2 separate regions of the Homo sapiens genome follow, and region 2 is linked to region 1. Evidence: promoter capture Hi-C in 16 types of primary human blood cells and fetal thymus (Javierre and others, 2016). All regions are on one chromosome and are shown on one strand. Each heading gives the region's core, a stretch centred on a gene start or on the middle of the fragment in contact. The rest is flanking DNA. Distances are from core to core; before and after follow the strand shown. Region 1 holds the start of TTC12 (tetratricopeptide repeat domain 12). Region 2 holds the start of ZBTB16 (zinc finger and BTB domain containing 16).

What was found. The method cuts DNA at HindIII sites, captures the fragments that hold promoters and counts their contacts. A CHiCAGO score of 5 or more calls a contact.
Region 2: a contact is called between the fragment with the promoter of ZBTB16 here and the fragment with the promoter of TTC12 in region 1, in 2 of 17 cell types (total B cells and naive B cells). The highest score is 9.1, in total B cells.

Annotation. Positions count from the first base shown.
Region 1 is chr11:113,311,483-113,315,886 of GRCh38, forward strand. It overlaps TTC12 (tetratricopeptide repeat domain 12), which reads left to right and starts at 3,101. Exons shown (of 22, transcript NM_017868.4): 1 at 3,101-3,136. TTC12-DT (TTC12 divergent transcript) reads right to left here and starts at 2,974. Exons shown (of 5, transcript NR_199709.1): 1 at 2,848-2,974. RefSeq lists silencers at 2,912-3,161, 3,185-3,479, 3,372-3,471. The HindIII fragment of the contact is 13,389 bases long and covers 1-4,367 here.
Region 2 is chr11:114,056,599-114,061,232 of GRCh38, forward strand. ZBTB16 (zinc finger and BTB domain containing 16) reads left to right here and starts at 3,113. Exons shown (of 7, transcript NM_006006.6): 1 at 3,113-3,284. RefSeq lists a silencer at 2,669-2,963. The HindIII fragment of the contact is 2,602 bases long and covers 2,140-4,634 here.

The sequences.
Region 1 (4,404 bases), core at 1,851-4,350:
AAGTGAGGGGGAGGAGAGCTGCAGTGAGGAGGAGTCCCTCAAATCTATCTCCCAGTGGAGTGCTGGGCTGGGGTTTTTAAGGAGATCATGGAGGTGAGGGGCTAGATAACTGGGGTTGTCCATTGGTGGGATAAGGGGGATGAAAGTATCAGGATTTGGGAACTGCATTCTTTGGTGAGTCAACTTCTGGTCAGCTACAGTAGGAGACCTGGGGGGGCAGCAGGACAGGGTCATAGTGGGGCCCTCAGACCAGCTGGTGTCAATGGGTCCTTCAGAACAGCTGACATTAGTAATTTCACTGGTATGCAGGACCTGAAAGAATACTCCAAGTGGAAAACACAATGTTTTATGTTCAAGTTGTTAACTATAGAGCAGTTAAGGGGAACTATAATATTGTAACTGGGTCTACGTGATTCTGAGATAACAGACACTAAATAATTATGAAGAAGCAGGCCAGAGAACAAGCTGACCTCATGGTTCATGCTGAATGTGCTGCAAGCTGGGCTTATTTTATTTCTCCCCTTCCCTGCTTCCCTGATTAATTTTATAAAGTTTGTAAGGAAGGTTTCAGTAGTGTTAGTAATAAAAAAGGAGGAATATGATCCCCAGTACATAGCACAATAGAAGGTGCATAGTAGGTGCTTCAAGACATTTTAATGAATGCTAATAGGTGGAGATGTGAGATTTGAACCCAGCAAAATGGCTCCAGAGCCCCAGCTCTTAACCACTTAGCATGTGATGACTATTTGTCAAGTGCACCCCAGGGGCCTTCCGCTGCATCTAGCACACTACAGGCCACTCACACTAGCTGAACAAATGTGTGAGTGAATGGTTAGGTGGTACAGTCAGTTGTGGGCAGATACCTCTGGAACCTAGGAAAGGAGTTTAGTGAAAAGAGTAGTAGGATAGGAAGTAAGTGATTTGGAACTATTGGCCTCAATGTGATAAGAAACACCCTGAGGTTGGGGACCATAGGCATATAGCCTTCATGTATTCAAGGCCTCACAGGCCTAAGAGGAAAATGGGGTGATACTAATGGTGATAACCAAAACATCACTGGTTCTTGTCTCCATCAATTCCCACAGGCTGGAAGGTCACTGTGAAGTACCCTATATCTTTCTGAGGATCCCTATGGTGTGCCTAGCCTGTGCTCATCAACGTCCTTGCTCCTGCCAGGCACCTACACTGTCTGCTACTTCTCCTGAGGCACCTCATTCCCTTGGGACAGCCACTGTGACCATGTCCTGCTGGGATCCCCAGGTCTCCTGCTGCAGTTGATGAGCCAAAAGACTCACTCTGCTGATGCTGTACCCATTCAGCTGCCAAGAGGAGCAGAACATCCGTGGCCCCTTTGTGTTATACTGCATTAGAGGGGTACCCAAGCAGGATGGTATGTGTACCAATGCATCATAGAGACTTCAGCCAAACAGCTCTTCTGTTCTCTACAGGACACAGGCATGCATCCTATGGGGCCTAGGCCACAAGAGAGTCAACAGGCTGTACTTGGAATCAACACTAGAGCTAGCTGGCCATGCCTGGATCCCTCTCCCCTCTGGCGAATTCCATCTCTAGGGGCTCCTTGTTCCCTGCCAAACAGGTTTCCATAAAGCACTCATTTGCCAAGAAGTTCCGGGTGTTTCTGACCGTGAACTTAAGCTCAAGTTTCCCCTAAACCTGCTTTTTTTCCATTGGTAACCCTGCACATAATACTCTGAGATTTTGTTTAGAAAAACAGACTGAAATTTCTTTAGGGCTGTGTGCATGTATTTGGGGCATGAATGAATGTGCCTATTAGCTCATTCTGTTCTAAACCCTATGATTCCCCGGATGTCACGTGCCACCTGTTCCTACTGACTAGGTACCAGGCACTGAAACCACCATTGCAAAATTATAACTGAGATGGTGAAAGGGATCTGACCTAACCGACTCCATCTTGCTTCTCATCTCCAAGCTGTCTTTGTTCATTCCTAGGCATAGGCCAAACTAACTTTGGGGGGAACTTAGTTTATAGTGTAGCTTTGAAACAAAGACAATACCAGCCCTTTCCCAAACAAACCCCCTTCTTGCCCAGGAACTAGACTGCCTTTTCAGGACTAACAAATTAGCCACAAAATTAGAAATTATGGTTTAGGAGTCATGCAGCTAGAGGCTGCAAGATTCTAAACCTCAAATTGCTCCTGGGGATAACATCAACTATTGTAAAACCTAAGATCAGTGCTTAAGATATTTCACAGACACTGCACTCGATGGATCAGCTGGCACCACCCAGATGAATAAACTGGCTCATCTGGTCTTATGACCCCCACCTGGCAACTGACTCAGCACAAGAGGACAGCTTTGACTCCCTGTGAGTTCATCTCCTAGCCTACCAATCAGCACTCCCGACTCACTGACCCCTACCCACCAAATTATCCTTAAAAACTCTGATCCCTGAAAGCTAGGGAGACTGATTTGAGTAATAATAAAACTCCGGTCTCCCTCACAGCCAGCTTTGTGTGAATTACTCTTTCTCTATTGCAATTCCCCTGTCTTGATAAATCGACTCTGTTTAGGCAGTGAGCAAGGTGAACCTATTGGGCGGTTACAGCACTTTAACCATAAACCTTATGAGAAAGTGCCATTTCTCCATTTCACAGGTGAGAAAACTGAGGATTAAAAAGGTTACTCAAATAACTTTCCTAAGGATAAATGTGTGAGTCTTCTAACTCACACATTTATCAATGAACAAAACCGGATTCACAAGTACACTGGAGACTTTACATTTTGGGCAAGGATATTAAGCTAACGGGAGTGAGACAACCCTTCTTCAGTAGAAAAAAGGCGAGCAGCAGGCGCTGCTTTAGTTACCAGCACTTTGCTTCCTCCGTCTCCCCGCGCCAGGCATCGGGCATCCCAACCTCGACTTTGGCCTTCAACTTGGCGCGCTCCGGAGCTAGAGCTCTGCGGTAGCGAATCTGATCGCGTGTCCATGCCCGCCCCCTGTCCCGCCTCCTGGCTTTTGACCCCGTCCTTGGTCCCGCCCCGGGCCCTGGCTCCTGGCCCCGCCCTTGGTCCCGCCCCGGGCCCCTGGCTCCTGGCCCCGCCCCAGCCCAGGCAGGTCACTGCGCCATTTCCTGTCCAAAGCTGGGCGAATCAGGTCGGTGCCGCGGGGTACCCCGGAATCCCCCCTGGGAGCTGGTCCTGCACTGGCCTTCAGAGCCGAGCAGAGGACGCTGCTTTGGGCCCCAGAGCATGGGAAGGTCTTGGCTGCGGTCTGGGACGGCTGCGGTCTGGGACCTGCATGGAGGGCCCGGGACTTGCGGACGCCTGGGAGCGGTTGCTGGGCAACAGTGCGTGCGGCCTGGCCTCTTTGCGCCCGGCGGGCAGCGCGCGTCTGGGGCAGGCTCCGCGCGGGGCTCGGGCACAGGTCCCCGCTGCCGCAGCCCTACCGAGTGAAGCACTGAGCGCGGCGCCGCTTCGCCATCACCTGGCTCTGGCCCTCTCACCCTAGCGTAGGGGGGCACTGGCCAGGCAGTGAGGACCCTGAGATCCATGCCCTGGGAGACAGAGGTTGTCTCCTGTCCATGCACCCGCGCGCCTGCCTTCTAACCTTCATACCGTTGGGCAGATTAATTCACTGGACTAGGCCTCTGTTCCGTGGGAGTTGAAAAGATTTGACCTGGAAGAAACCCTAGCGATTATTCAGTTAAGCCGCAACCCCACCCCCTGTTTTATATAGGTAAGGGTGCTTCACGGTGAGGACTCGTCGCGTGCCTGGTGCTTTACATCAGTCCCCAGAATAGTCCTCGTAGTTTCTCTCTTACTGTTCCCATAGTATGGGTGAGGACTCTGAGGCTCGGAGAGGTTGTGAATTTAGCCAGAATCACACAGCTTGTAACTGGTGGAGATGAGGACACTGAGACTCGATTAAATCACTCGTAGTTTGTTCGTGGCAGATTACGTGTTAGAAGCGTGTTACACTACTATGAAACCTGGCCATAAATGAGAATCACCTGGAAAGTGTTTAAAATCTATATTCGTGTCTGGGCAATGTCCCGGGTTTACTGACTTGAAATCTCGGGCTACGGCTGAGGAAGCTGTATATTTAACAATCTTCCCGATGATTTTTATGATCTGTGGATGAACCACTGAGTACTGCTGGGTACACCACGGGGCCTTCTCGCACAAAAACAACTGTAAAATAATATCTGAGGTACCTAGAGCAGAAGAGACGCTGGTGAGCATGGTAACATTATGTTCTAATCCCTTCAGTCAATTTGTACCCTTTCTTCACTCTTCAGAAACAAGCCAAAGGCAGATTTTAAACAAGTATGGACATTTAGATGCAAATTGCCCCAAGTTTGTTACCTGTCACACATCCACATTTAAGCTTCTGACTAGACCAGCCTGTCATGATCAAAGTCA
Region 2 (4,634 bases), core at 1,863-4,362, 750 kb after region 1:
ACATAATCTAGAAGTTAAGAGCATGAGCTTTGCAGTCAGAATGGTCTGATTTAAAGTTTCAGCTCTGATGTTTAATAGATCTACAGTCTGCAGTAAGGCACTTAATCTCTCTGAACCTCAGTTTTCATGTCCACAGAAATTGGGAAAATAATAGCACCTGCATTAATAGGATTGTTATGTGGATTAAATAAAACAACATAGGTAATGTGTTGAGTTTCGTAGTCAGTGCTCAGAATGAGTTATTATTTTCGCTGTCTCCTTCCTGTATGATCTCTTAGAACTGCTATACCCTCCTGTTCCACTAACTGAGCTCTGAAAGGCTGCCAGTGGTGGGAGGTACATGGGTAAAGAGGGAGATGAGGGAGTAAGATTTAGCAATGGAATTCCATGCAAAGGCCAGCTCATCTATTCCTCTGTCTCTAGCATGATCTCCCCCTAAGATTGAGATCTCCTGTATTTTTAGAACTGATACCCAGGTTTCCCTTAAAAGACGCTTCAAGAAAAAATGTAAAAGAAAAATCACTCTAAATACACGAACATGAGAGAGACAGAAAGAGAGCGGGCATGTGCGCGCGAGAGAGATTGAGTATTCTCTTGTAATTTTCCATCCTGCTTGTTTTTAGGTGCTGCCATATGAAATCTCTGAACTGAGGATTCTCATCAGCCTTCCCAGGACCCAAGGACATAGCTCTGGCTATAAATGGTGCCAGTTTTGGTGGGGGAGCTGCTGCTGCTTTATCTGGGCCCAATAAACCTTATCAAACTGCTGTGCAGCCAGCCTTCAGCGCTAAGTGGAAATGCTTGGAGCCCAATGCTGGCATTCAGCCCACAGCCTCGCCTGCCTTCTTCCTTTTTGTTACCTTCTCCACCTCTTAAATTCAGGCATTAATCTCTCTTTAACACTTACTAACAAGGGCTGGGCTTTTAATGGGCAGCGTTTATGAAGCAAGGGAGATTTTCACATAGAGTGAATATGGCACGGGGGTGGGGAGGCCAGGGCCATAGAGGATTGTGCTTTCTCTCCCATTGTTTCCAGAGATTCTCTCTTTCTCTGATTTGAGGATTAATAGGAGATTAGGATCAGGGGTTAATTGTGTGCTTCTCCTGCTACTGCACTGAGGAGAGGCTGGTAGGTGGATGTGGACAGCAAAGCGGAAACCTCCAGCAGGCACTATCTAGGCAGAAGCTCAACAAGTGTAGTGATTCTTTCTTCTGTTTCCCTGGTGAGGCACCAGGAGGGTCTTTTCTCCTCTCCTTACATCCCTCCACTCTTGCTCTCCTTGCAGCCCAGTTCTTTCCTAACTTTCTTTAAATCCCTTTCCTCTAACAGGGTGTATAGACCTTAGTTAGAAAAACAGGTAGTCTCTAAATGGGATTGCTCTTTATTGTTAATGAAATGAATACCCAGGGACTGGGCTTCCCCTCCGCTTGCCCTGGGTTTGATGTGGTTGTATCCCGTGCTATCAGAGGAGCCCTTCCTTCACTCAAGTGTGTTCCCCTGCCCAGCTCTCTCCGCAGACTCCTGCTGGGCTGAGCTTTCCCTGCTCTTAAGAGTCAGGAGTGGCTCTTGCTGGGATGGAATGACCCGTCTTTGGGGCTGCCTCATGAGCGGCTCTTGTGAACCCGGATCAGTTCCGATGTGTAAACTCTACCGCCTGGCCTTCAGCGAACAGATACAGATTTCTGCCACCTTCCATGACCCTACAGTTCATGGGACTGGGTCTGGGGCAGTGCCAGAGGCACGCATGGAGGTGTGATTCTAGGTGAGTCCTGCGGAAAACCTCTGGCCCACCCGTGAGTCACGGACAGAACATGCAGACTCAGGCCTTGGTGACATAAGCTCCGCATTGCTAAAACCGCGTGACCTCGAGGGCTGACTGGCCTGAGAACCCTGGATGGCGCTCTCGGCCACCCCCACCTCCCACCCCAACCTCCTGGGCTTCGGTCAGAATCCACAGCCCGTGCCCGAAGAGCGCTTCCCGCCTCTGGCACCCTACCTTCGCTCAGCTCCAGGGAAAAGGGGAGAGGGCAGCTTTCTGCAGTCAGAGGAAGAGTACATTTTCTTTGGCTGCTCTACCCTCTGAAGTAGGGCGGCCAGCTGAAGGAGGACACACTTTTGAGGGGCCCAGAGGTTGTCCAAGCTTCCCCCTGCCCCCTGAAGACTGTGCACTGAGCTGGGCGCAGTTCTCGGGAACTGTTTCCACCCAGATTGCTGGGGGGCGGGGGGGTAGGATGAGGGCAGAGCCGAGAGGCTGTCCAAGGTTTGGGAGAGAGAAAAGTTTCTCCCAGGACTCGACCTTGGCCTCCAGCAATCGCGACAGCTAAAAACGGGTGTCTCGCTTCGACAATAGATCCCCGCGGACCTTCTGGCACCTGGTTCACTAGCGCCCGCGAACTCTGCCTCGGGAGACTTATTGAAATCCGGATGCTCAAGCCGGGAGGCGCGCAGTAACCAGGAGGATGAGAGGGCCGGGTTTGGGCTAGGAAAGCGGCCTTTTAAAACAGATGTCAGGGGGACTGCAGCCCCGAGCCATGAGAAAAAAGTTAAAGGCGAGATGACACGCACTGAATTGGGGCAAACATTGGAAGAGGAGACAAAACTGCGTGCTTGAGCACCGGGGTGCGGGGAGGGGGGGACAAAACCCGTATCCAGTGCAAATTAAAATCTTGGGAGTAGGTGGGGGCTGCTGCGCGCCCTTCACCCTCAGTTCCCCTATTAAGGATTCTGAGTCCCCATGCACTCCTGTCCTCTGGCTCCTTCCTTCCTCTCCGCTCGGCCGGTGAGAGGCGGCCGCCGGCGCCCCAGCAGCAGCTAGATGTCAGGCGAAGCCCGGAGCGCGGAGCGCGGGGAAGGGAGGGGAAGGGAGGGGAGGGGAAAGGAGGGGTGGGGCGGGGAGCGCGCGCGGGCTCGGCCAGTGCGGGGTGGTGGGCGGGCTGAGCCCGGGGACGGCGCGGGAGGGGGGAGGGAAGGGGGGCAGCTGTGGGCAGGGAGCCGGGCTCGGCCGCCAGCACTAAAGATGGAGAGGCGCCGGGGCCTTGCAGGGGAGGGGGCTCGGCGTTGACGTGGGACGCGGCGGAGGCGCAGCAGCCGGTGGTGATTTGCTAACCTCGCAGCAGAGAGGAGTTGAGGGCGATGAGAGCGGGTACTGCGAACTGCCGGGCGATGCTGTCGCTGCCGCCGTGATACGGAGAGCAACAGTTCCCCAGCAACACCCCTCCCCGACACAGGCACACACCCCCCGACAGGCACGCACACCCACCCCACAGTGCCCGGCTCGGCTGCGGTGAGTGAGGGGCCGGGAAGAGGCGCACCGCCCAGCGAGCGCCGCGCGCCGGGGCTTCCCGGGGCTGGAGAGGTCTGGGGGGCGCGCGCTCGCTTCGGCCACTCGGCCGCTGGGCTTGTGCCTTTTTTATTTGGCGTGTTCCCTTCCTGCCGCTGCAGCCGTCGCCGCCACCGGTTGGGGGTCGGCTAGAAGGGGGAGCCCCGGCTGTCAGCCTGGGCGCAGCTGCCTCCCCAGCCCTTCCTCTTCAGGGCACGGTCGGGGTGAGAGGTGGGGGGCGTAGCGGTGTGCGGGGGCTGAGGGCGTGAGCAGAGGGGTCGGGGATCCGGAGGCTTTGTACCGCCAGGGGCTGGCGGAGCAACAGAGCCCGTGGGTGCTCTTATGTATGCGGACCGGTGCGCGGGCGCAAGATAAGGTTGTGGTTTATTTATTTGTGTGTTTATTCGCCGGCCGGCTGGGAAGCTAGAATCGGAGGAGCTGACGAGTAGATCTGGGGGCGGAGGGGAGCAGGACTGGGACTGCTTACGTTTTGTTTCTCTTTGAGAAAACGTGGTGGGCTTTTTCTTGATTGGACTTGATCCCCACCCCCCTTTTGCAGGGGAGGGAGGGAAGCTCCAGAGGGTCTGCAGCGCTGCGGGCCCTCCTCGGCTCTCGGCGGGACCGGCGGTGACACCGGAGCTCGCCGTGCGCTCCCGGCCGCTCTCGGTGGGTGCCGGTCTCTGCACCTGATGCGTTCGGGATGCCTTTCCCACCCTGGCGCGCCCGCCGCTAGCTCGCACAGCGCCTCGCACACTCCCGCACGCGCTTGAAATGCGCACGGTCCCGCCGGCCCGCGGAACCACCCGGACGCACGGAGCGCTCCGCACCGACTCGCTCGCCGCCTCCCCGAGACGCTCGCACCGTGCTTGGGCCGGGCGCGCTGGCCGCTGGCGCCGCTGGCCAGAGGCCTGGGACCCAGCCGGTCGCTCCCAGGGGGTCACGGCCCTGGGTCGGAGAGGGAGGGCGGGCAGACCCCTTCTCGCCTTTCCTCCCACAACTCGCTGCGGGGCTTTTGTGCTTCCCCTTCGCCGCGGGGCGGGTCCGCCTCCCCTGCCGCTCTCGCCGCGGAGTCCAGCCCGCCCGGACTGTCGCCGTTCCTCCCCGTCTCTTTCGCTTTCCCTCGTCCCTAGCTCAGCTCTCCTTCTTTCAGGAGTCTAGCTCCTCGGGAAAAGTTGCTTCCCCAAGTTTGCTGAAGTCGTCTCCAAGTCTCGGTGGGGGTCGCTGGGAACTGGGGGGGTGTGAGAGCGCGGTCGATCCCCGGAGCTCGGGCGGGTTATCGCCGGCTCTTCCCCGCGCCGCCTGGCTGGACGCTGC